6 separate regions of the Homo sapiens genome follow, and regions 1, 2, 3, 4 and 5 are each linked to region 6. Evidence: promoter capture Hi-C in 16 types of primary human blood cells and fetal thymus (Javierre and others, 2016). All regions are on one chromosome and are shown on one strand. Each heading gives the region's core, a stretch centred on a gene start or on the middle of the fragment in contact. The rest is flanking DNA. Distances are from core to core; before and after follow the strand shown.

Evidence for each region. The method cuts DNA at HindIII sites, captures the fragments that hold promoters and counts their contacts. A CHiCAGO score of 5 or more calls a contact.
Region 1: a fragment that was not itself captured here is called in contact with the fragment with the promoter of BANF2 in region 6 in 1 of 17 cell types (neutrophils); the score reaches 5.3 in neutrophils.
Region 2: a contact is called between a fragment that was not itself captured here and the fragment with the promoter of BANF2 in region 6, in 2 of 17 cell types (naive B cells and M1 macrophages). The highest score is 5.3, in naive B cells.
Region 3: a fragment that was not itself captured here is called in contact with the fragment with the promoter of BANF2 in region 6 in 1 of 17 cell types (M1 macrophages); the score reaches 5.2 in M1 macrophages.
Region 4: a fragment that was not itself captured here is called in contact with the fragment with the promoter of BANF2 in region 6 in 1 of 17 cell types (fetal thymus); the score reaches 5.0 in fetal thymus.
Region 5: a fragment that was not itself captured here is called in contact with the fragment with the promoter of BANF2 in region 6 in 10 of 17 cell types (total B cells, M1 macrophages, naive B cells and 7 more); the score reaches 12.2 in total B cells.

Annotation. Positions count from the first base shown.
Region 1 is chr20:17,550,503-17,553,820 of GRCh38, reverse strand. It overlaps a transcript of BFSP1 not described here. Among named protein-coding and RNA genes, the nearest start is that of DSTN, 18 kb to the left of the region's middle. The HindIII fragment of the contact is 3,996 bases long and covers 1-3,318 here.
Region 2 is chr20:17,826,951-17,830,007 of GRCh38, reverse strand. It overlaps LOC107985440 (a long non-coding RNA gene), which reads left to right. Exons shown (of 3, transcript XR_001754511.2): 2 at 229-338. Among named protein-coding and RNA genes, the nearest start is that of BANF2, 130 kb to the right of the region's middle. The HindIII fragment of the contact is 1,708 bases long and covers 532-2,239 here.
Region 3 is chr20:17,872,127-17,875,193 of GRCh38, reverse strand. It overlaps LOC105372548 (a long non-coding RNA gene), which reads right to left and starts at 2,558. Exons shown (of 4, transcript XR_937297.3): 1 at 2,474-2,558; 2 at 2,271-2,341. The HindIII fragment of the contact is 1,269 bases long and covers 736-2,004 here.
Region 4 is chr20:17,524,997-17,528,227 of GRCh38, reverse strand. All of the region lies in intron 1 of BFSP1 (beaded filament structural protein 1), which reads left to right. Among named protein-coding and RNA genes, the nearest start is that of BFSP1, 4.8 kb to the left of the region's middle. The HindIII fragment of the contact is 4,339 bases long and covers 1-3,231 here.
Region 5 is chr20:17,899,642-17,902,784 of GRCh38, reverse strand. No RefSeq gene overlaps it. Among named protein-coding and RNA genes, the nearest start is that of SNORD17, 62 kb to the left of the region's middle. The HindIII fragment of the contact is 1,633 bases long and covers 832-2,464 here.
Region 6 is chr20:17,698,276-17,701,441 of GRCh38, reverse strand. It overlaps BANF2 (BANF family member 2), which reads right to left and starts at 1,476. Exons shown (of 4, transcript NM_178477.5): 1 at 1,387-1,476. It overlaps LOC105372547 (a long non-coding RNA gene), which reads left to right and starts at 1,583. Exons shown (of 2, transcript XR_937294.2): 1 at 1,583-1,943. The HindIII fragment of the contact is 11,340 bases long and covers 1-3,166 here.

The DNA.
Region 1 (3,318 bases), core at 343-2,842, 150 kb after region 6:
GTGTGTGTGTGTGTGTGTGTGTGTGTATATATATATATATATATGTTTATATATTTTTAACAGGTCTTTTCAAAGATCCCAATTCTAACTGGTATAAGATGAGCTCTCTACTAATAAATCCGAAAGGCCTTGATGATCACCTTATCTAAAGTAGTTTGCCACCCCACTTGCCTCCACTGTCTATCCTCTTTCTGTTCTGTATGATTTTTGAAGCACTTATCAGCAACTGACACACTGTATATTTGTTTAGTTGTTTACTGTCTCTTTAACCCTAATAGAATATCTGCTCCATAAGTATAGGTACTTTGTTTTCTTCATCACTGAATTGCCAATGAATTTTTCGAATGTCACTTGGCACATAGATGATAAACACTAAATATTTGTTGAAGTTGTTGATTGAAGTAATTGTTCTTTCATTGAGGATTTTTGTTTTTGTTTTTTTGTCTACCCTGTGAATTTTATTCCATGGATTTTAGTTGTTCTTGTTGAGTTTGGCATTTCATCCTCATAGTTTCTTCCCCACCACTTTCCTGAAACTGCTTTTACTCATATGACCATGGAACGTCACATTGCTAAATCCAATGGCCAATTCTTAGTCCTCATCTCATACAACATAGTCAGTCATATCTTCTCTTCACTTTGAAACACTTTACTTACTTGGCTTCCGGAATCCCACACACTCTTCCTGATTTTCCACCTACCTATCTGGTCCTTTTCAGGCTCCTTTGCTGGTTCCTCTTCATCTCCTAACCGCTGATCTCCAGAGTCCCCATGCATACTAAGTTCTTAGACTTCTTCTCTTTACTCTCTGCACTAATTCCCTTAGTTTTCTGATTCAGTTTCATGACTTTAAATATCTTCTCTCTGCTGTTGGTTCCCAAATTTATGTCTGTCCTTGACCTCTCTCCAGATTTCTGACTTGTAGATGCAACTGTCTATTCAACACTTGCCCTTGGATGTTTCATAGACATCTCAACTTCTCATAATTAAAACAGAAATCTTGATATTTTTCCCCCAAATCTGCTTCACTTCCAGTCTTCCCCATCTTGTAAATGTCAATTTCATCCTTCCAGCTTCAGATTTTATCCTTGTCTCTTCTCTTTCACATCCCACATCAGTACATTCTGTTGGTTCTACCCTCAAAATATATATAGAATTCTATCACTCCTCATTACCTCCATTGCTATCACCCTGGTCTAACTCACCATCACCTCTAAACTGGATTACTGCAATGGTCTCTTGGCTGGTCTCTCTGCTTCTGCTATTCTCAGCACAGCCATGAAAGCCATGCTGTTAAGTTGTAGGTCAGTTTATGCCACTTCCTTGCCAAAATTATCAAAGGCTTCCCTTTACTCTCACAGTGAAGCCAAATCCTTATGGAGGATTTGTAGAAATCCCGTGGGATCTGTCCTCTCGTTGCCCTTCCTGACCTCATCTGACCCGCACTCTATCCTCACCTGCCCCACTCTTGCCATGATGGCCTCTGCACCCTTCCTTGAACAAACCAGGCACATCCTATTATATTTATTCTTCCCCATGTTTAGAACGCTCTTTCTTCAAGAATCCAAATGGCTTTCCCATCACTTCCTTCCGTTCTCTACTCAGATGTAACCTCCTCAGTGAGGTCTTCTCTGACCACCCTGTCTAAAATTACCAGATGCCCCACCATCCTCCCAGTTCCCTTTTCTTTATTTTTCTCTGTAACACTTATCACCACTTATTATACTCTATTTTTCACTTATTTATCTTATTTACTTTCTGTTTTCTCCAATTGAATATAAGCTCCACAAGAACAGGGATCAGGGATTTTTATTTTCTTCTTTTTTTTTCTTTTTGAGAGAGAGTCTTGCTGTTGTCGCCTAGGCTGGAGTGCAATGGTGTGATCTCGGCTCACTGCAACCTCTGCCTCCTGGGTTCAAACAATTCTCCTGCCTCAGCCTCCTGAATAGCTGGGATTACAGGTGCCCGCCACCATGCCCAGCTAATGTTTTTGTATTTTTAGTAGAGACGAGGTTTCACCATGTTGGTCAGGCTGGTCTTGAACTCCTGACCTCAGGTGATCCACCCGCCTCTGCCTCTCAAAGTGCTGGGATTACAGGTGTGAGCCGTCACACCCAGCCTTATTTTATTTTTTTCACTTCTGTATCCCAAGGCCCAGAAGAGTGTTGGCACAGGGTAGGTTGTCAATACATATTTGTTGAATAAATACATGAATAAGATTGGTGGTGTAGATGTACAAGTGATTTCAGGTACAGATGTGATACCTAAGGGTAGCAGCCATCTGTGAGCTTGAGCACTGATATAGTTTGGATGTTGTCACCTCTAAATTTCAAGTTGAATTGTAATCCCCAATGTTAGAAGAGGGGCCTGGTGGGAGGTGATTGGATCGTGGGTGTGGATCACTCATAAACGGCTTAGCGCCTTCTCCCTGGTGCTGTCTTTGTGACAGTGAGTGAACTCTTGAGAGATCTGGTCATTTAAAAGTGTGTGGCACCTCTCTGCCTTCCTCCCACTCTCACTGTGTGACCAGACAGCTCCCCCTTTGCCTTCTACCATGAGTAAAAACTCCCTGAGGCCTCCTCAGAAGCCGAGCAGATGCTGGTGCCATGCTTCCTGTACAGCCTGCAGAACCGTGAGCCAACTAAACTTCTTTTCTTTATAAATTACCCAGTCTAAGGTATTTATAGCAATGCAAGTATGGCCTAATACAGGCACTAAGCCACATACTAAAGCCAGCAGAGTGAAGAGTTGGAATGAACCTGGGACTGAAGGCTCCACCACACTCGCCCTGAACTGCCTACCTCTGGACTGCATGTCATCATGTTAGGGAAGCAGGAGCATAGGAGAGCCAGAGTGGCACCATTTTAAAATCAACTCCATCGTAAAACTGGCAAGGCACATTTCTTGTCTATCATGACCTGTGGTTATATGATGTTTACAGCTGAGGAAACAGCTTAACAATGCCTGCAAGGATAAACTATGACAGAAAAAAATGTCCAGATGTCCTGGTATTGCATAATAATACATGCTTTTAAAATGATTGTAGTTGGCCAGGTACGGTGGCTCACGCCTGTAATCCCAGCACTTTGGGAGGCCGAGGCGGGTGGATCACCTGAGGTCAGGAGTTTAAGACCAGCCTGGCCAACATGGTGAAACCCCATCTCTACTAAAAATACAAAAATTAGCCGGGTGTGGTGGTGGGCAGATGGGCACCTGTAATTCCATCTACTCAGGAGGCTAAGGCAGGAGAATAGCTTGAACCTGGGTGGCAGAGGTTGCAGTGAGCTGAGATCACGCCATTGCCCTCCAGCCTGGGAG
Region 2 (3,057 bases), core at 136-2,635, 130 kb before region 6:
TCCGCTCAAGCTCCTCTCACCTGGAGCCACCTTTGGGCCTGTCTTGTCTTTCATGACCCTGATATTTCAAAGCATTCAGTCATTTGTTTGACAGACCGTGCCTCAATTTGGATTTGACTAATTGCTCTTCAGGAAGAGATTCGGGCTTGTATTAGTCAGTTTTCTGTTGCTATAACTGAATATCTGAGACTGGGTAATTTGTAAAGAAATGAAATTTATTTCTTACAGTTCTGGAACTGGGAAGTTCAAGGCTGAGGAGCTGCATCTGGTGAGGGTCTTCTTGCTGGTGGCCTTCTTCTGCAGAGTCCTGAGGTGCTGCAGGGGATCTTGTGGCAGAGGTAGGAGCAAGAGTCAAGCTGGCTTTTTAATGACCGACCGCCATGATAACCCAAGAACCTATTAATACACGAATGGCCCTCATGATCCAGTCCCTTTTTAAAGGCCCCACCTCTCAATGCTGCCATATTAGGAATTAAGTTTTAAGATGAATTTCAAAGGAGACAAACCTTCAAACCATAGCAAAGTCAAGCTTTTTTGAAGGGACAAGATTAATCATAATTTTTATTCTATTTGTGTGCATGTGTGTCCTTTTTAGAGATGGGTCTCACTCTGTCCTCTAGGCTGGAGTGCAGTGGCTCAATCATAGTTCACTGCAGCCTTGAACTCCTGGGCTCAAGTGATCCTCTTACTTCAGCCTCCTGAGTACCTAGGACTACAGATGTGTGCCAATGCACTCAGCTAATTGTTTTCTATTTTTTTAGAGGTGGGGTCTCACTATGTTGCCCAGGCTAGTTTTGAACTCCTGGCCTCAAGCAATCCTCCCATCTCAGCCTCCCAAAGCAGTGGAATTACAGAAGTGAGCCACCATGCCTGGCAAAGAAGGTGTACGAACATACACACACTGGAGTCTTTCTTCTTCTCTTGCCCCTCAGTGGGTGACCCAGTTCCCATCCTGGCAGGCAAATCACATTCCCAGTGTCTGTCTCCTTCCACAGATGATACAAGGGGAGTGTTTAATGGTGTCTCCTGCATCTGTAGCTGGATAGTTTGATCAGTGGGTGTGTCTGATTGTGTCACTCTCTTGCCTAGAAACCGTGGAAGGGTCTTGGAAGGCCAACTAAGATCTTGCTTGGCCCACAGGATCTAGTGCTCTGGCCCGGCCCACCTCACAGCCTCACCTGGTTCTACTCTCTGGCTTGGAGAGACCCCACCACGATGGCCTCCCTCCAGCCTCCGCACAGACCCTTGGATGTGCCATTCCCTCTCTCTGGAAGGCTTTTGCTCCCTTACCCCATCAGCTACTCATCATCCTGCATGTCTTGGCTCCCAGCCCCTTTTCCTCTGGGAAGTGGTCGCCAAATCCCAGGCAGGGTCCTATCACCTGGTAACACCCCTCTCAGGGACAGTGTATTCGCTGTCTGCTCCAGGAGGGAGGAACCTCTTCTAATGTGGGCACCAAGCGCCGTGCCTGGTGCATAATTGGCTGTCAGTAAACATTTGTGGAGAGAGCAAATGCACTCATGAATCCCTCACATCACAGAAGGCGGGGCCAGAGCCAGGGTGGAGGTGGGAGTAGAGGAACTCCGGGGCTGGCTGCTGAGGAAGGTTCTCTCTGATGGTGCAGCAATAGCAGGTCAAGCCCAGGGTCAAGATAAGGAGCCAAACGTCCCAAAGGTCGTAGGTGGTCAGCGATGGGGCCAGCTGGATGTTGCCAGTGGGTAACACTCCTGCTCTGCCAGGTCTGAGGCTCAGAGTTCCCAAAGGAGCAAGCAAGTTCCTAGGAGAGGAAGAGGAGAACCAGACTAGGTATCCGGTCAGGAACAAGGGACCCAACAAAATGAGGTGGGAGACTTGGGGCTGAGGTGCGGGCGGTTGCTCCGGATAATGACAGAATGGATGTGCAGAGGCCTGGCCATCAGCCAGGGTCCTGCACTGGAGATGTCCCATGGAGAAGGCAGGGCCGAGGCCCAGCAAGGCTAATACAATTCTCTCTCCAATGTCTGGAGCCAGCTTAGGCCACAGAAGGTATAGACCATGACATTGACCCAGCTAAGTCCTACAGTGTCCGTTGGGCCAGGAAAGGTTGTTTAAGGGATGAACAGGACAATCTCTGCAAACAAAAAAGTCTCACATTTTTGGCCTAAGGCCAGAGGGAAAAGCAAAGTTCACCAACAACAGCCCCATGATCCCTCTCCACCTTCCACCTGAAGTGAGAGGCAGGGTGAAGCCCAGCAAAGCTTTCTGCACTGTGTGACTGCAGGGGGCAAAGGATATTCATGGAGAAAAGAAAGAAAAACCCCAACAGGGATTTTCTTCAGTGCATGGAACTGGTTTTGTTTTATTTTGTTTTTTAGAGTTTCCTGCAACTTTCTATTTTTTTTCTATACATGAATGCCAATTATTTTTACACTTTTACCAAAGACAAAACCCTTTTCAAGGATTCTGTACGCATCCCCTGAGAGTACTGGTTCTAAACCTTGACTACATGTTAAAATCACCTAGGGAACTTTAAATACGCCAATGCCTGGGTCCCACCGCGAGGTGATTCAGATTTTAGTGCTTGGCAGTGTGGCCTGCCCAGGTGATTATAATGTGCAGATTGAGAGCCACTGCCCTAAAATGAGTATGCACTAGAGAGGTCGAATAAAAGATATGCTCTTACCAAGCACCCATATCCAGGAAGGCCATGTTCAGTTGTATGAGCTGCGTACTGCATACCTCCAGGGGACACCATTTGCATAGCCTATAACATAAAAGTGCCTCCCTGGAGTTATGCAATGTGGCAGCCTTGTAAGTATGGATATATAAATTACATATTCATAGATACATAATTTAAACATTGATTGCATCTGTTCACTATAATTCTCAGTGGGAGGGATGGAAATGATGTTCAGTAGGATATACAGAGTATTTTGGAAGACTTAGTTTATATTGTCTGGGATTTTAAAATTTGGTGAATCATTCTCCAAGAAGATGATTATAAATTTAAAAAAATAAATAAATAATAAAATCTGATGAAGGTTAAGATAACAATAAAAACACCGAAAGCCAAGGTGA
Region 3 (3,067 bases), core at 121-2,620, 170 kb before region 6:
GCTCAGTAAGAGGGGTACCTTCTGTCCATGCAAGTGGCCCTCCTTTGAGACCCAGCGCCCGACTGCCCAACAACTTGGAGCTGTTTCCTCCTTGTTCGTAGCACTTTCTGGCCTCTTCCCTTGCCGTCTTCAGTGGGTGGCATGGTGGCCCTTTCTCTTTACATTTTTTTCTGGCACTAGAATCTGAGCTCCTTGATCTGCAGGGATTGTGGTTTCCCCACACAGTGCCTGGCACACAGATAGTGCTCAATAAATGCTCACCACGGCAGAATTTAACTGTCTTTGAGGTATCCAGAATATAGAGACAGGTTCCTCCAGCTTCCTACTCCCTCAGGCCTATTCTAAAACAAAACCTGAATTTCTGTCCCTGAAGGCAGGTCCTCCTTTAGCCAACTGCAGGTCTCCTTAGGAAGAGTAAGATTCCAAGTCCTAATTTATCCTTTTTATACCTAAGGTGGATCAGCCCTGATTTTATGCTGGGACCTTTACTTGTACTATTTTATTTAATCCTCAAGATAACCCTATGAAGTAGGTACTGTTAATATCATCCCCATTTTACAGATGCAAAAACTGAGGACCAGAGAGATTAGGCAACTTGCCCAAAGTCACACAGCCAGCAAGCAGTGCACAAGGGATTTGAACCCAGACCCTTCTGATACCAGAGCGAATGCCCTTGAACCTCTGGGCTACACTGCCTGAGGGCTGCAGGGCTCTAAAGGGATAAGGAAGGAAGCTTGGAGGGACTGAGTGCCAGGGGAGTGAGAGGGGTGTGTGTATGAGTGTGTGGGTGGGTGGGGCTTTGCAGGGAGGCGGTTGCTACAGAGGGGCAGGGGAAGGGGGGTGCTGGAACGTGGGGAAGGTAGACAGAGGAGCCCCAGAAGCAGTCAGCTGTGCTGACGATGGATGGGGCAGGAGAAGAGAAACCCCAGGCAAGGGAGGTGAAGCTCTGAGCGGCCACACCAAGCTCTCCCTCCTGCCCAGGGCACAGCGCCAGGCCTTACTTTTGAAGCTAACGAGAAGCAGATGAAGGAGTGGGATGGGCTAGAGGCGGAGACTGCCTCTGCTACGTGGCACCCCTCGGCAAGCCTGGAGCTTCTGCCAGCGGCCAAGAGTGGGGCAGGGCCTTGCAGCTGGACTGTGGGTCTCCCTCAGGGTTTACTACAGCTTGGACTTGCCAGTGCAAGAGGGTGGATCTTATTCAAAGATAGGTTCAAACATTAGCAGCCTCAGTGAACGATGCAGCCTGGGCTCCATGGAGTTGCTACCACCCATAAGAGGGTGTCCCTCCTGCCATGGGCTTCCCTTTCCTTCCCTGACACATGGACAATCCAGCCCACAGGTCTGAGCCCCCCAGAGCAGCTGGCTCCCAGGCTGCGCCATCCCTTCCAGGGAGGGGTGGGAGTGGGTAGTGCAGGTGCTTGGAAGCCAGAGGGGTGGCTCTGAAGGGATAGCTAGGATTCAGGATCCAGGGAGAGCACTGGGGGCTGGGGTGGCAGCCCCCTGTGGGCCAGGACTGGGTGTGTTGGTGACAGCAGCATCCGCAGCACCTTGCATGGTGTGCCTAGTCGATGCATAATCAACACTTTAGTTACGTCACATAACGGCTCTGTAAACAGGATCTGGAATCAGCCATGGGCTTGAACCTCAGTCCCACTATTACTAGCTCAGCAGAGGGCTTGACCCCCCTCCCCAACTTTTTTAGTGACAGGGTCTTGCTCTGTCACTCAGGCTGGAGCGCAGTGGCATGATCATAGTTCACTGCAGCCTTGAACTTGTGGGCTCAGGCGATATTCCAGCTTCAGCCTCCGGAGTAGCTGGGATTATAGGCGTGTGCCACCACACCTGGCTAATTTTTAAATTTTTTGTAGAAATGAGGTTTCACTTTGTTATCCAGGCTAGTCTTGAACTTCTGGGCCCACGTGATCCTCCCGCCTTGGCCTCCCAAAGTGCTGGAATTACAGGCACGAGCTACTGTGCTTGGCCAGGGCTTAACCTCTTTAAGCTTCCATTTTCCTATCCGAGGCTTCCAACTCAGGCAGCTCTGAGCCAGCTCTGAACCAGTCACGACTTGCTGCCTCTTAAAGGTGCAGAGCTCAGCACAGTGCCTGGCACATAGTAAGTGCTTAGTAAAAGCCATCATGGACATTTAATTCACAAACAGGTGGAGGATGCAGCAGAGTGTCCTGGGTCTTCCTGAAAGAAGTGAAGTGATGGCATTTTGTACTTTTCATCATTCATTCATTCAATCTTCATTCAACTCTCCTACAAACCTGGCCTAAAATGCAGGCAGAGTTGGTGTTGGGGAAGGAGATGGCTGTGGGTCCATTATACTCCATGAAGCCTGTTTGAGGGAAAGAAGCAGAGAGCCCTTCAAGTGAACCGGAGGGAGACGGGCTCCTATTAGGAAACCCTGGACTCAGGGAACTGATTACCAGAGGAGCCTCACAGCAGCCTCCTGGGAACGGAAGGTTACCAGGCAATCCGGGGCTGGGTCACTTCTCTGCCGGCCTGTGCTAGTCTCCCTGCGCACTGACTATCCCCGCGAGACTCTTCTGCTCCCCCAAACTCAGCATGCAACAGACTACGGGTTGCCGTGGTAACAACCAGGGCTCCAGTTTTATATGTTCTTACCACTTCCGGGTCAATACCACTTCCAGGTCAATACCACACCCGGGTCAATACTACCTGACTGTGGTTGGGTCTTTTTGAGTTCAAATTCTGTCGCCCTCTCATAAGTGGGGGGGCTATCTGTCTCAAACCTGATAGTTTGCTTCTTCCTCATCAGCAAGAAGGGGGATCACACTCCCAAAAAAGGTAGGCACGCAAAATTGTCTCCTATGAACAGAACAAAAGACCAGCACCTCCCAGCAGCCTTTTCAGATAACTATCTTCACACCATTTACACCATCTTTATTTATCCTCTTACCTCTCTTTCTCCAGGACTGTTAAGAAGCTGAGAGCCACAGTAAAAAGCCACAAGGATGTCCCAAGTTACATTTCCAACCTTGTCACCTGCTTCCTTCACAAACCCACTTTTCTGGGCAGAAAAGTGCACCCTGCCAGCAGA
Region 4 (3,231 bases), core at 188-2,687, 170 kb after region 6:
CCCTTGGAGAAGTTTTGACATTTGGATTGTGGTAGTGGGAACTGAAAATCATTATAGAAATGCTCATCCACATCCATAGGCACACACACATACACATACATGCCAGGCTGGAGTTTACATTCCAGAGGTGAGTTGATGGCTACCTAAAGCCAGGGGAAAATAATGCAGCAATGGGTTAGTATGTGCAGGCTTGGTTCCATGCCAGTGCTAGGCATAGTCTCTACCTGGCAGTTGAATAATTTCAAAATCAGGTCTTTAACAGGTCAAAGACTAAACAAAACACTGAATAAAACAAGAATGAAATAAAAACAAAACTATCAAAATACAACAACAGAGTCAATTATTCAAATTGTTGAAAACTAAAAATAATTTATGTAAAACAGTTAATTGAAGCCAGTTTTTTCACTTTATGAATATACTTATATGAATATACACATCATGAATTCTTTGTAGTGAAATCACTCTCTCTCTCTCTCTTATTTTATTTTATTATTTTTTTTGATACAGAGTCTCGCTCTGTCACCCAGCCTGGAGTGCAGTGGCGTGATCTCGGCTCACTGCAAGCTCTGCCTCCTGGGTTCACGCTATTCTCCTGCCTCAGCCTCCTAAGTAGCTGGGACTACAGGCGCCCACTACCACACCCTGCTAATTTTTTTGTATTTTTAGTAGAGACAGGGTTTCACCGTGTTAGCCAGGATGGTCTCGATCTCCTGACCTCGTGATCTGCCCGCCTCGGCCTCCTAAAGTGCTGGGATTACAGGCGTGAGCCACCGCGCCCGGAAATCACTTCTCTTTAATATAATATCTAGACTTGTCTTTACAGCATGAAAATTACTCACAATATCAGGTTAATGTGTTGATCCTCAAACATGTTCTTAAGCTATGGAAACTCTTAGATATTTCCAGCAGGAAAGAGCAATAAGAAAATTAGATTTTATTAAGTTTTATTCTCAAAGCTAATTATACATTTAAAAACTAATTTCTGGCTCTGTTATTGCAACACACAAAATAAACTACTAAATGTAACATCCTGATGTGAAATGTAAAACTTATGCAGAGATGTTTAGTTTCCTAGATAGAACTCAGCTTCGCAGATGGTTTTAGATCTGGGAATGCGTGCACATTGCACATATTCATAATTGTTCTTCCTTCAGTTCATGACTTTTCCTTCTGAGAACATGGTGGTGTGGTTTTCTAGCACCTTTCATGGTTGCAGAATACTTGACTTGAACCCATGGCATGGGCATGCAAGGGCACAGAAAACTATGCTTTGTGGATTGGGCTCAGTGTTAATTAGGATTGCTTTCAACTATAAAGGACAGAAACTCCAAACTGACATTGACCCACTTCAGACCAATTAGGATGGCAACTATAAAAAACAAAACAAAACAAAAAACAACAGAAAATAAGTGTTTGTTAGGATGTGGAGAAATTATGGACTGTTGATGGGACTGTAAAATGGTACAGCCATTGTGGAAAACAGTATGGCAGTTCCTCAAAAAATTAAAAAATAGAGTTACCATATGATGCAACATTTCCATTTCTGTGCATATACCCAAAAGAATTGAAAGAGGGTTTTGAATAGCTACTTGCATATACGTGTTCATAACAGCACTGTTCACAATAGCTAAAATGTAGAAGCAACCCAAGTGTCCACTGACAAAGGAATACGTAAACAAAATGTGGTCGATACATAGAATATTATACACCCTTAAAAAGGAAGGTAATTCTGACATATGCTACAATATGGTTGAAACTTGAAGACATTATGCTAAGTGAAACAAGCCAGTCACAGAAAGAAAAATATTGTATGATTCCACTTACATAAGGTAGTTGGGCGTGTCAAATTCATAGAGACAGAAAGTACAATGGTGGTTGTCAGGGCTGGGGATGGGGAGAATGGGGAGTTAGTATTTAATGGGTACGGAGTTTCTGCTTTGCAAGATGAGGAGTTACAGAGATGGATGTTGGTGGTGATTTCACAACATTATGAATATATTTACTATCACAAACTATATACTTAAAATGGTTAAGTTGGTAAATTTTATGTTATGCATATTTTACCAGCCCCCCCCCCCCCCCCCCCGCCATACAGAAAAAAACAGAAAAAGTGATACTGGCTTACCCAAAATGTCATTGGCTTATCCAAAATGTTTCTCACTTGTGTAAGGTCTGGTTAAGCAGTTTAGTATGATACTGTACAGTATTTGGGACACAGAAGGTTCTGTGTGGCCTTCAGGAAGGCAGCATTCATGTTTCTGGCTGCAGGATGGAGGGAGGGATGGAAAATGAGAAGCAAAGGGCACACATACACCATTACTTAACTAAAGGTATCTGGAAGCTGCCATGCAGACTTATGCTTCCATCCCATTGGTCAGGACTTAGTCACATGGCCACACCTGGCTGCAAGGAATGCTGGAAAATGTAGTCTCCCTTCTAGGCAGTCCTGTGCTTGCCAAGCATCAAGGGCTCTAACTCCTGAAGACAGCAAGAATGGGCATTTGGGGGTCACCTTATAGGGAACAAGGGGAGGGGTCATTTAGGAAGGAATCTTCTCTCTTTAGGGTTAAAATTCCCCCAGAGGGACGTGCCTCAGTTGTCCCAGCCGAGCAGAAAAGGAGCTGGGGTACTTATGCTCCAATTTGCCTCATTCAGAGTTTGTGGGCTGCTCCCAGAGGCCCTGACTCCCTGGCACGTCCAGCCTGCCCCACCCATTTGCCCAGAGGAGGCCATCGCTGTGTGGGGAGTGATGCTGCTGGGAGGAGGGAAAAGTGTGCGGAGCATCTGCCTGAGTTTCCTCATCTTTAATGCAGCACTAACAATAACTGCTTTCTTCTGGGGTGATGTAAGGATTAAATGACATAATCCAGAAAAACTGACAAATTACATGTGTCAGCAAATAAAATACTATAGGAAATCCAAGTACGGTCAGGTTAATGGTGGTGTAGATTGTGCAGGGCAGTCTCCCATCTCTGCCACTGCTGCACTTGGGTTATAGATAGGCTAGGATATAATTCCCTCATCCTTGGGGTGGCTGGGAATAAGGCTGTAGGGGCTGGGGTTGGTGCCTTCGGGCTGGGAGACTCCTATTCCGCTAACTGCCCCTGGTTACCCCACGCGGTGTGCAAATGGTACCACTTTCTGATTGGGAGGCAGTCAGCTAGGAAATGCAGCATTCGTTAGCTACTACTTTAAAATTAAGACCCTCTCCTTAAAGGAGAGGGCATCGTA
Region 5 (3,143 bases), core at 399-2,898, 200 kb before region 6:
GTTAGACTCTGGTGGTTTTCAGAGTGTAGTCCCCAGAGCAGCCACATCTGCACCGCCTGGAAACTTGCTAGAAATGCAGTTTCTAATTAGGTCCCACACTTCCACATGCATCAGAACCCCTGGCAGGGACTGTGAGAACAGTCAGAACAAAGATTGCTGGGGCTGGCCACAGAATTCAGTGGGTCTGAAGTGGGGCCTGAGAATGTGCATTTCTAACAGGTTCCCAGGTGACAATGTTGCTGTGGCTCCAGGGGGCCCTCTGAGAAACACCATATTAAAGATTCTGATTCAGTTGGTGTGGGTCAGACGGTCCGGGCATCCCATGTTCCAATGCTCCCCTGTGCTGTGCAGCTGAGGTTGGGAGCTCCTGGTCCATGGTCTGCGTTGCAGCACGGCTAGAGCCGCACATCTGCAGAAGACAAGAAAGACCCTCCTAAAGGGCTTCTTCCTTCATCTAAGTTTTCATCACAGGCAAACTCTGTGTGTCCAGTGTACTTGGGGCTTGTAATTTTCCTCCAAGGACCTGTAGGACCCTCTCCAAGTTTGAGCAGGTCTGGCATCCCAGGGTGCTAAGGCCTGCTGGCAGCTCACGTGCTTGGCCCCAGGTACTCTGGGAGCTGTGAGAGTTCGACCCAGAAAGGTGGATCCCTTGAGAGTTCTGGGCAGGGCCACAGCCCCCTTGGTTGGAAAGCGACGGGTCCCTTTTGGTGCTGGTGAGCTGTAAGCAACAAAGCTGTTGCCAAGGGCCTCTGGAATATGACTGTTTCTGAGGCTGTTACAAAATTATATTAAATTCCCAAATGATGGTATTCATTGTAATATATGCAAGCTTTTTAATGTATCAGCCATGCTTATATCAGGTGTGGTCACCTAAGAGTTTTGATTGTTTTTGCTCTTTTATTGATGCATAATTTGCATATAGTAAAATACACAAATCTTAAGTGGATGCTCAATGAATTTTTACCTATGTATACACTCATGTAACAACCACCAAGATCAGGATAGAGAACATTTCCATCATTCTAGTAAGTTCCTTCAGGCCCTTTCTCACTCAATCCCCATCTCCCACTGCCCTAAACAAGTAGACACTATTCTGACCTCTCTCATCATATGTAGATAAGTTTTGCCTTTTATTTTTTTATTTTTTATTTTTATTTTTTAAAAAGGGGTCTTAGTCCTCTGTGACTCAGGCTGGAGTGCAGTGGTGTGACCATAGCTCAATGCAGCCTTGAACTCCTGGGCTCAAGCGGTGCCCCCGCTCCAGCCTCCCGAGGAACTGGGACTACAGGTGCACACTACCACACCCAGCTAATTTTTAAAAAATTTTTTTGTAGAGATGGGGTCACCCTATGTTGCCCAGGCTGGTCTTAAGTTCCTAGACTCAAGGGATCCTCTGGCCTCAGCCTCTCAAGGTTCTGGGATTACAGGTGTGAGCCACACTGTGCCTGGCTTATTTGATATCTTGTGATCAATATTGTGTTTTTGAGATTCATTCATATTTCACGTAAGAGCAACCCATTCATTTTTCTTGCTGTGCTGTACACCACAATGTATTTATCTATTCTTCTATTGATGGGCATTTGAGTTGTATTTAGTTTTTGGCTGTTATCGATTTAGCAGCAATGTGTATTTTTGTACATGTTTTTTGGTGTGTGTACGCACTCATTTCTTTCAGGGTATATACCCAGGAGTGGAACTGCTTGGTCACATGGTGAGTGTATGTTTAATTTTAGAAGAAACTGCCAAATGGTTCTCCAAAGTGCTTGTACTGGTTTATACTTCCACCAGCAGCATGTAAGAGTTCACTTCCTCCACATCCTCACCAATGCTTGATATTTTCAGAAATTTAATTTTAGCCATTCTAGGGAGTGTATAGTCACAGCATATTGTGGGTCTAATTTGCATTTCCCTGTAACCATTGAGGTTGAGCATCTTTTTTTTTTTTTTGAGACGGAGTCTCGCTCTGTTGCCCAGGCTGGAGTGTGCTGGCGCAATCTCGGCTCACTGCATCCTTCGCCTCCTGGGTTCAAATGATTCTCCTGCCTCAGTCTCCCAAGTACCTGAGATTACAGGCATGTGCTACCACATCTGGCTAATTTTTTGTGTTTTTAGTAGAGACAGGGTTTCACCATGTTGGCCAGGCTGGTCTCAAGCTCCTGACCTCAAGGGATCCACTCATCTCGACCTCCCAAAGTTCTGGAATTACAGGCATGAGCCACCGCGCCTGGCTGATGTTGAGCATCTTTTTATGAACTTACTGGCCATTTTGATATCCTTTTGTGTGAATGCCTTTTAAATTCATTTGTGCATTTTTTTTCCTATTGGATACCTGACACCTTTAATAAAGATAAAAGGGTTATGAAATAGCACCTTACTCATGCCAGGAGTTAAGAGGAAACTGAAGTGGGTTTGTGAAGAAAGTGATGAAGAAGAGAAGGACCCTACTTCTCAGGTCTCTGAAGCTTATTGGTCTCTGTCTCCCCAGAACCTAGCACACAGCTCGGCACAAGACAGGAACCCAACAAAAGTTCATCAAATAAGGGGACTGTCCTTGTTTTGGGGGGCTGTTGTGGACTTTGCAATGCATGATCCTCTTTACTATTCCATCTCTCTGAAGCTACATCAGACCCTGGGACCCCTCCAATTCTGGACAGGTGGCCCACAAGTAGCCTCAGGCCACGGCTCACTGAGACAGCCCAGATTGTCTTGCTGATTAGCCTGCTTGAATCCCATGGAAAACCTCTCCTGTCACTGGGGTACTCCATGAGCCTCGGGGATTGCATCATTATTTACATCCCAATTTCTTTAAATTCAAGATTTGTATCCAATAGCGTTGGTCTCCCTGAACCTGGATCCCCAGGTTCTCAGAAGAGTCAGGGACCGCAAGCTGCCTTCACCAGCCCAGATCTCTGCTGAGCACTTGTTCTACCCGGGATGAGTTCCTGAAGATAAACCTTTTGTGCATTGTGTTATTTTGTGTGCACAACTCAGCTAAGTGGCCTCCAGCACTACTCATCATCCCGCCGCCTGGCTACCAAGAGGCCCAATCAGTATCTGTGGAACGAGTGGATAAAGAATGATTTAGGGTCCAATCCATTTCCCAATCCAGTAAGCCATCTTTCATTTCCACCATCTTGGGCCAA
Region 6 (3,166 bases), core at 227-2,726:
CTCCAGGTTAATGACCCTCTTTAGACGTGGCACCAGCACAGAACAGTCTTCAGTTTCTATGTCTGTAGAATGAACCTGAGAACACCTGCTTCACAGAGGTCGGAATTAAGAGCAATAACATAGCTGGTGGGTCTGGCACGGGAGGTTCAGCGTTTGCTCCCTTTCTCCTCTCCAAATTAAACCTGCTGCAGGACGGGGACCACAGGTTGCTCTAGCGCCGGCCCCTCTACTGTCTTTTTTCCTTTTCCAGTGGGGCCTAACATAGGCTAAAATGTTCTTAGCATGCTTGGTGAACCATTGGCGTCTTGGATTTGTGTGTGAAGCAGAGGTTGGCTTCAGCCCATCACATATAAAACTAAGGAGGGATGGCAAAGCCTAAGGGTAAAATATTTCTCTGATCCACCCCCCACCACCTCCCTTTCTACCTTACACAGTCAAGGAGAGCCAGGAGCCTTCTTAAAATCATGGGGTCCCTATAGAAGCCACTCCTTTGTGGGAGAAGGGACGCAGCTGCAGCTGTGTGGACGTGTTGGCACTCACAGATGGTGAATGGACCGTAGACAGACTGTGGGAAAACACGAATGGGCCATGGTAGGGAAGGCAGCTGTGCCTCCTGGGGCCCAGAACGGGTCCCTACTGTTTGTTATAGAAGGCCTTGAGTCTCAAACCACCCTCAGCCGAGTGCAGGTGGCCCATATGGAAAGAGCCAGCATCCTCTTTGAGAGATGGCTTTGGCCTCTGTCCCTGTCCCCGCTACCTTAGATTTTGCCCACTTTCCTGGTGTTCTAATCCATCTCCTTATTTCCCGTCACGATCCTAAAGCTCTCTTACTGTCCCAAAAGGAAAGGAAGTGATTTGATATACCAGCAGGTCACCAGGAGGTGGATTTAAAAACAGCCAAAGCAGGAAGGCCTCTTACAGAAAGGAAGGACCGTCGTTCACATTTTGGACGGGAGGTGGCTGTGTCAGCTACCTCTGCTCATCCTGCTATGTGGTGTGTCATTTGGCCAATGGCTGTCCCTGACCTCAATTAGGGCTAGAAGTGATGCTCTAGTGAATTTGCCATCTGAAAGCCTGGCCTCTCTGCTCTATTAAGAACACAGGTGACCTTTGCCCAGGGAGCTGGTGCAGGTGGCAAGCCGAGTCTTAGGGGAGACTAGAGTACCACCTCCCGCAGATGGTGACACAGCAGGAAGAGGCTGGGAAGGGGTGTGTGCATCAGGTGAGTCAGCTTTCCTAGGAAGAGTTTGGGGCTTACCTGGTGAACTCCTGTCCACCGGTTTGGCTCATCTAAACCTGTGTGAGAATGAGACCTTAAAGTGCTAAGACAGCCAGCTGTTGGCTGTATCTCCTTCCATGCTGCTTGGGAAAGTTCTGAATACTCACCAGGTGCTCCTGATAAGCCAGTGGCAGCTGGCAGTTTGTCTCAGTCACCTTGGATCTGGAACTGCAGGCCAGAGGTTCAGCTTATGTCTTAGGCCCATGGGGCAAATCAGTCTCAAGATCCTGAATGGACTACATTGTGATGTCACACCACAGGTCGGGGGTGAGCACAAAAAGGGCTGCAGTGGCTGCTGGCATCAGGGCACAGGGCAGGGCAGGAGCAAGAGCCTCAGGCCTCTCCAGAAGAAATCAGCCTGTCTGGGTGCTGTTCTCAGCTGGGGTTGCTGGGAAAGAGTGAGGGATGTCTGCTGTACAGAAAACATCAGCCTGGAAGACTGCTTATGAATCCACCTGCTGCCACTTGCTGCCACGGTTCCTATTCTCACCTGGCCTGCGTCAATTCAGTTAAACCAAGTCCATCCTTCATGCAGTTTTCCTGCACAAAGTGACTTCCGTGGGTACCCCCAGCTCCTTGCACATCTTCTGTGATGGACTTGAAATTCCAGGGCAGCTTTTTCTTCTACCAGTATACCCGTGACTTTCCCCCTACTGCCCACCTGGTAGGGACTCAAGGAAAGAGAAGTAACTTAAATATTAGCTCAGGAAAACAAGCAGAAATATAAATCCTCCCACCTTCAAGTTAAATTCAACACAGGTGTCTTTTAGGTTATCCTCTATAGCATATATGCCTGGGCTACTTTCCATTGTTGGTAATTGATAACTTGGTACAATGTATATTTACTAAGCCTAAAAAGAAAAGAAAAACTCAAAAAAGGGGGCAAAGTATAAAATGTTTCCAGAGATTCCATTCCCTTTTGCTGCTGGTGCTTGGGATTGGGGATGGAGGAGTTCTAACCAAGAGCAAACGGCTTCGCTTTGGAAACTGTTGGGTGGCCCTAAATTTTAGAGTCCAAAACAGTGGGTCTTAAACTGTAGGTTGCATTAGAATGACCTGGAAGACTCGTTAAAATACAGATTCCTGGGCCCCACTCTCAAAGTTTCTGACTCATTAGGTCTGGGGGAGAACCCAATAATTCACATTTCTTACACGTTCCCACATGACGTTGAGGCTGCTTGCTCTGAGACTACACACTTTAAGAACATGTAAGGGTGCTGGTATCTTAGGTTTGATCCTGAAATAGTATTGCCAGCTGATGGCAGTATTCAGGGGTTGCTGGAGAATAAACAGGAGCTGTAGCTTTGGGGCCAAAGCTGGCTGAGCTCTCTGGGTTCAACCAGCACGCTTTACTGAGGATCTATTCATTGCCAGAACTGAGCCACGTTTTGGGGAAGCACAACTGACGTTGTCAGTGCCCTGCCCATAGCCTCTTGGCCTTACAACTTCATTGTACAAAGGTAATCTGACTCCCAGCTGCCAGTACCTGCGTATCTTTGCTTGGGGGCTTTTGCCAGCTGCTGGAGTCCACCCTGCCTACAAGCGGGCAGCTGCAAGTTGCAGAATGTCCTCATTCAATGACTATTATCAGTTGGTAGATAAATAACCCAGCTCCCTCCCTGCTCAGGTGGAATAACCTGGAGTCATGTCCTGTTCCATGTCCCAGAGGACCCACAGGACCCACCCGTAGGTGCCTATGCTAGGCCATTCTCTTCCTATAAAGAAATATCTGAGGCTGGGTAATTTCCACAGAAAAGAGGTTTAATTGGCTCACAGTTCTGCAGGCTGTTCAGGAAGCACGGTGCCAGCACCTGCTTTGCTTCCAGTGAGGCCTTAAGGAGCTGACAATTATGTCTGAAGGTAAACAGGGAGCCAGTGTATCACATG